Regions from separate parts of the Homo sapiens genome. Here region 1 is linked to region 2. Evidence: promoter capture Hi-C in 16 types of primary human blood cells and fetal thymus (Javierre and others, 2016). All regions are on one chromosome and are shown on one strand. The core of a region is centred on a gene start or on the middle of the fragment in contact, and the rest is flanking DNA. Distances in the headings are between cores, read along the strand shown.

The links. The method cuts DNA at HindIII sites, captures the fragments that hold promoters and counts their contacts. A CHiCAGO score of 5 or more calls a contact.
Region 1: a fragment that was not itself captured here is called in contact with the fragment with the promoter of BTF3 in region 2 in 1 of 17 cell types (activated CD4 T cells); the score reaches 5.1 in activated CD4 T cells.

The regions. Positions count from the first base shown.
Region 1 is chr5:77,031,286-77,034,559 of GRCh38, forward strand. It overlaps AGGF1 (angiogenic factor with G-patch and FHA domains 1), which reads left to right. Exons shown (of 14, transcript NM_018046.5): 2 at 3,133-3,235. Among named protein-coding and RNA genes, the nearest start is that of AGGF1, 2.5 kb to the left of the region's middle. The HindIII fragment of the contact is 711 bases long and covers 1,670-2,380 here.
Region 2 is chr5:73,496,779-73,500,059 of GRCh38, forward strand. BTF3 (basic transcription factor 3) reads left to right here and starts at 1,664. Exons shown (of 6, transcript NM_001037637.2): 1 at 1,664-2,021; 2 at 2,356-2,424. The coding sequence starts at 1,890. It overlaps BTF3-DT (BTF3 divergent transcript), which reads right to left and starts at 1,542. Exons shown (of 1, transcript NR_186388.1): 1 at 775-1,542. RefSeq lists enhancers at 1,499-1,558, 1,589-1,888, 1,652-2,462 and a silencer at 2,099-2,148. The HindIII fragment of the contact is 2,385 bases long and covers 835-3,219 here.

The DNA.
Region 1 (3,274 bases), core at 775-3,274, 3.5 Mb after region 2:
GAGTTTATTAAAATGCTGGACTTGAGTCAGAATCCCATCTCTGCTATTCACTGGGTGTGTGAACTTATATACCGAGTCTCAGTTCCCCATTAAATGAGAATGATAGCTCACAGTAGTAAAGGTGAAGTAAAACAAACAATTTTACAAACTTTTGAATGCTATACCTGTTTAAGGTTGCTCTTCTGGGCGTTTATCATCTTCGGCTTTCTTGTGTAAGTAGGGACGATATATAACTGCTTTTGTTGGAGACGTTAAGCAGCTTATTTCGTTTCCAAGATGGTAGGGGCAAATGTTAATACTTAAACTGTCACATTAAAAACAACCTTGGCTGGACGCGGTAGCTCACGCCTGTAATCCCAGCACTTTGGGAGGCCGAGGCGGGCAGATCACCAGGTCAGGAGTTCGAGAGCAGTCTGGCCAGCATGGTGAAATACAAAATTTAGCCGGGCGTCTCTACTAAATACAAAAATTAGCCGGGCGTGGCGGCGGGCACCTGGAATCGCAGCTAGTCGGGAGGCTGAGGCAGGAGAATTGCTTGAACCTAGGTGGTGGAGGTTGCAGTGAGCCGAGATCGTGCCACTGCACTCCAGCCAGGGCGACAGAGTGCAACTCTGTCTCAAAATAAAAACCAAAAAACCAAGAGCATAGTATTTTTTTCTACCTTGTTGGCAGGCCCTCTCTGCCAACAGATTATTTCCACATAGTAACTAGTTTCAATTTGACCGTTGTCTAGTCCTTCATAATTTATTGGTGGTTTCCTAAAACCAGTATATAGGCTGAACACTGAAACGTCATCAGACTTCTTTGTTTTGTTACCAAATGGACTATGAAAATAACTGTTGAGTTGCAATGACTTTGTATGACCATTACATGGAGTTCCTGACATGACATTATTGGAAAGTTTTTGTTTAGTCAATTTAAACACCTACGGTGTGTAATAACTATGCTAGGAAAATACAAATATGGTAAAAAAAAAAAAAAAAAAAAAACAGGGAGAGGTGGCTGGGCGCGGTGGCTCACGCCTGTAATCCTAGCACTTTGGGAGGCCGAGGCGGGCGAATCACGAGGTCAGAAGATCGAGACCATCCTGGCTAACACAGTAAAACCCTGTCTCTAGTAAAAATACAAAAAAAATTAGCCGAGCGTGGTGGCGGGCGCCTGTAGTCCCAGCTACAGGCTGAGGCAGGAGAATGGCGTGAACCCGGGAGGCGGAGCTTGCAGTGAGCCGAGATTGCGCCACTGCACTCCAGCCTGGGCGACAAAGCAAGACTCCGTCTCAAAAAAAAAAAAAAAAAAAAAAATGGGGAGACGGGAGCAAAATATAACAGCCTTTTTTACATGACAGCCTTTTGAAAAGCTCCTTTATAATTCTAAATTGTTGAAGTACTGCTTGCGTTAGAGATTCTAAAAGAAAACGTTTTTTGCTAATCTTCAGAGAGCCAGCATTTTGGTGTTACTGTTAATTTGATAAATCAGACTAAATGATGGGACTTTGTGAACAGATCCTTTATTTCTTACAGAAAAGAATGTTTTTATGCTAATATTTTGAGAGGTCAGCAATTCTCCCTAAAGAATTAGAAAATTTAAGAGCTATCAATTCCCATTCATGTTATCTAATATCATTCAATGTTCACGTGGATTTAGTTATTAAATGTTAATGCCTCTTATAAGCTTTAATACACTTTAAAAAAATAGTAGTTCTGTGACTAAACTGCAGCAGAAGCGAACAGAAGGTAATTGCCTGAGAGGATCATCTGTCCTCCACATGCCTCCATTTTAGTCCAATATTAAAAATTTAATCTCATAGAAAGTCTTGACTCTACTTTGAATAGTGATAACTCCTTACTCTCCTAGTCAGCCTCCCTTGGTTGGGGAGAGGGTGGATTCGATTAACTGTCATTCCAAATTACTGAATGTGTTTTATTTGGAGCAGTTAAAAAGTTTTGCTTGAGAATGATAACTGGAGAACCATAATATGTATAGGGTTTGTACAAGACCCCAAAATAGCCTTGTGCAAATTACTTTGTCTTGTCTGATATTTTATGTGTAAAATTGGGGTTAGGACAACGAATATTTCAGGTGGTTTTGTGAATTAATGAGATGTTATCTAAAGCATCAAGTATAGTGCCCAGCATGTAGTAGATACTAAGTAATCTAATTCATAGTGATAGGGACAGTAGCCAGAGCCAGGATTTAGGGCAAGGCAATCAGGCTCCTAGGGCGAGGAATTTAATGGGGCACTAATTCCCAGCGATGAACTCTGTACTTGCATGAATCAGAGGAGCGCCTCAGATTTTTCACGATCAGTGTCTTGCTTCCCTCACTGTAGTTCCTGCCCTAGTATTAGCAACAGATCAGTTTTATCACCTTTCTCTGTTTAAGCTTTATGTATCATTAAATAAATATTTAAAAGCTTGTTTTTTAGTTGGTTTCTTGTGTGTAGTAGACATTGTCTCACATTGAGGTCCTCTCAGGCTGAGGTGTATTGACTGAGGCAGCGTATTGACCGAGGCAGCATGTTACTTGCTTTTGGGCACTTCCACACACTTGTTTCTCTCTGTCCTATGTAGTAGCATCCTTTTAAGGGTATTTTAGTGTGTGAAGTACATGGAGGACAGATGCCCCTCTCAGGCCGTCACCTTCCCTGTTCTCTTCTGCTACAGTTACTTAATTATAGGACTACTGTTTAATGAAAAAATGTATTAAAGCTTGTAAGTGGCATTAACATATTCAGGTGGATAGTTAATTCCCAGTGGAGAATACCAAATGAGTATTAGATAATCCAGTAGGGATGAGAATTTGTAAATTTTGAATTTTTGAATTCTTTAGAACTGACTTTAAAATGTTAACATAAAAGCATTCTTATTTGTTAGAAATAAAGGACCTTGTTCACAAAGTCTCATTATTTAGTTCGATTTTTGGAGGAGATATTTGGACATTTAGTAAGAGAGATTAGGAATAAAAATGCCTTTTAAATGTATAAAGTAAAATAATAATTTTAGCTTTTCTGAAAGGGAAACTTGCTGCTCTTGACATTTCTCTAAAACAATTATTTGTAACGGTAGGAGACTGGTATATATATTATTAGATTGTTACATGATTTCTTTTTCCTAAAGCCTTGTTTTCTCTCAGGTGGAAGAACTCAGTAAAATACTCCAACGTGGGAGAAATGAAGATAATAAAAAGTCTGATGTAGAAGTACAAACAGAGAACCATGCTCCTTGGTCAATCTCAGGTATTTAGCTTATAGTGAGGATATGCTAACACTGTTACA
Region 2 (3,281 bases), core at 414-2,913:
AGCGCAGGAGTTTGAGCCCAGCCTAAGCAACAAAGTGAGACCCCATCTCTTTTAATTTTTTTAAAGTTTTATATTTTTTAAAAAAATTATAAAAATAAAATTAGCAGCATCCCTGGTTTCAAAAAGTAGAAATAAATAAATAAATAAAAGTAGCTCACAATATTTCCTGAAAACAGGTGTATTAAAAGGGCAGAGGAGAGGGAAGGCAAAGAAAAAGAAAAAAAAGGTGGCAGGTTACATACATACAATCTTGTCTCTATAAAAGCTCAGAAAACATCACGTGACTAGGAAGTTTCAAATGCCTCCAATATAACATGGAGGAGAGGAAAAAAACTGTTCCTGGACAAAGATACACATTTCTTCCAAAAGGGGGAGTCTTTCTATATATTTTGTAATATCTCCAGAGCACAGCATAATGTTGGTACTGCCATTTTGGCCTTTGTCATTAGGAAGGTAACCCACATAAGCCTAACTACAAACACCCTTACCTGTACTAAAACTTCACTCATATTTAACTGAAGCAACATTGTTTTTTGTAAATATAACTGTAACAATTATTCTAAAAGGCAATACAGCTGTCCTCACCAGTTATGTTCTTGAGACATCAGTTGCAACAAACTTATATGTAAAAAGTATTCAAAAAGTTTAAACATTGATCTTAACTGGAGAGGGGTCTGCACTTGAACAAGTTTTCTTGCTACACACATTGCATTCTAAGATTTCGGACTCACTTTTGAATATGCAAAGACATTTCATGGTTAAGACCACAAAAAGGCTGATCAGAGAACATTTTTATTTAAATTGCCATTTTAAATATCAGTCGTTTTATCTTAAAGCTTGTCCTGGGTTTAACAAAGTTTAACTCACATCCACGCGTTGTCTCTCCAAACACAGCAGGCAGAAATTCTCCTTTGATTGGATTAAGATAGATAAAGTCTGCTTAACCGTGAATCGCTAATTGTCAAATCCATGCCAATTCGGTACCTAGGAGTCAATTTTTTTGCCTGATAAACAAGATAATTGTGTGGACCGTTTTAAGGTGGTTAGTCATCTGCTAAATTGGCTGAAATGCGGATTACCCAGTTCCTTCGTCGTACAGAGTTGCATTCTGAGGAGTGGGGCTCGGGGATACAGCCCCCAGAAATTCTGAACCTCGGTCCCGCAATCTACCACACCACCTAACCTTGGAAGGCCAAACTAACTTCACTATTTTTGACAAAATGCTTTGGTAATGGCTCATTCGGGCCGAGAGGGAAATTCTGCAATTCTCCAACCCACACCTCCAGCAAGGGGAGAGCTGCTTGAGTGGTGAGCACAAGCTGGGCACCTCCGGCGTCTCCAGGAAACGTGAATAGGCCCTTTCTTCGGAGGGCACAGAACTTCAGGATCAGGGCCCAATGGAGACTGAGCGGACTTAACCCTAACTGTGCACAGGACCGCGCTCTCCGACCCCTTTGTGGCCTCTCCCAGAGGTACGGGCTGCGCCCCAAGCCAGCAGTCTCTCGTAGGGCCTACAGCCGGCAGCCGCTGGAGCAGGAGGAGGAGAATAGGGACTCGCTGGACCATCACAAACGCTGTCGCGCGTGCGCAGGGAGGAACCGAGTTCGCGGCGAAGTCAGTTTCCTGACTCTTGAAGGAAGTGGCCTTGTGTCACTTCCGGCCTCCCTTTAGCTGCCATCTTGCGTCCCCGCGTGTGTGCGCCTAATCTCAGGTGGTCCACCCGAGACCCCTTGAGCACCAACCCTAGTCCCCCGCGCGGCCCCTTATTCGCTCCGACAAGGTACAAAAAGGCTCTGGACGGCGGCGTGGTAGGAGGACGGGAGCGGGGGCGGGAAGTTCCCTGAAGGAGCGAGACAGGGAGGGACAGGGCAGAGGAGGAGAGGAAGGCGATGCGACGGACAGGCGCACCCGCTCAGGCTGACTCTCGGGGGCGAGGTCGAGCCAGGGGCGGCTGCCCTGGGGGCGAGGCGACGCTGTCTCAACCTCCACCTCGCGGCGGAACCCGAGGACAGGAGCCTCAGGTACCGCGAGGCTTGCGGAGAGTGGCCGGGCCGGGCAGGCCCTGGCTAGGCCGAGGCCAGGCCAGGGCCAGGGGTGGGGGGTGCTGGCCAGGCGTGGGGTAGAGCCTTTCATCCGGGCCTGCCAAGAGCGGGGAGCTGTGGGGGAGTGGTGGGGAGGCGGGTGCTCTTTGGGCTCCCTGGAAACCCAAATTTGGAGCTTTGCGGGGTGGATTTGGGATCCAGGTTTCGGCCTGTGTAGGACGTTTATTTTCCTGCTGGTATCTTGGGAAATAACGAGCATGGAATGCTAGAGTGAGCTAAACCTATCCTTGCTGAGGATTTCCTCTTTTTCTAGATGAAAGAAACAATCATGAACCAGGAAAAACTCGCCAAACTGCAGGCACAAGTGCGCATTGGTGGGAAAGTAAGTTTTAATAGTTCGGGTTTGTGGGTTTTTTTTTTAAGGTTTAGGTATTTTAAAAAACATATTCCTTTTGCGCTTCTTATATTATCGGTGACAAACTTTGCCTATCGAGGGAAATTCACGGAGCTAGCAAATCTCGAGGAGCGGGGGAGACGAGGGTTGGAGACACATCAGTGAGACGAGCTAAAAACATCGCCTTTGTGTAAACATGTTTGTGTTTTCAGTGTTACAGAGTGTAAGTAGAACACAAAAGTGTTTCCTAATTTAATTAGTAAGGAAAATGTGTCATTTCAGTTAGATCGTTGTGCACATCATACCCTTGACTTGTTTTGGCCTGAGTTTTCTAAAGTCAGTGCTTGTTTGTCTCTCTTGTAAATTGAGACCTTTCTGTACTGCTTTCTGAACTAAATATTCTTTAGGGTAGTTGCATATTTCAAGGGTATTTGAAGATACGGGTACATTTTGGAGTTTAAGAGCAGTGACTATTAGATTTGAAAATATAACCCAAGTAGGTATCTTTCCTGTTCTGACTTTGTATTACTGTAAAAATGAGGGAATTAAAGTGACTGATTTTTAAATGATCAGTTTTTGATTAATTGTTTTTTTCCTGGTGGATACTGATTCACATCAAGGGGATTCTTTTTTGAAGCTGATTTTTAGATTGTCCTGTAATTAATAAGAAGTCCACTGTAGACAGAGGTCTACCTAGTTTGTATTGTTAGCACATTCTTAGTATTTAACAAGGTGTGGTAGCTTGTTGAAACAGAGCATGTCTTTACTTGGTAAAACTTGTAAAGCTTCCATGGTACATGTTTATTACCTTTTAGTTTTTCCCAACTTTAAGCGTTTAACTTAGA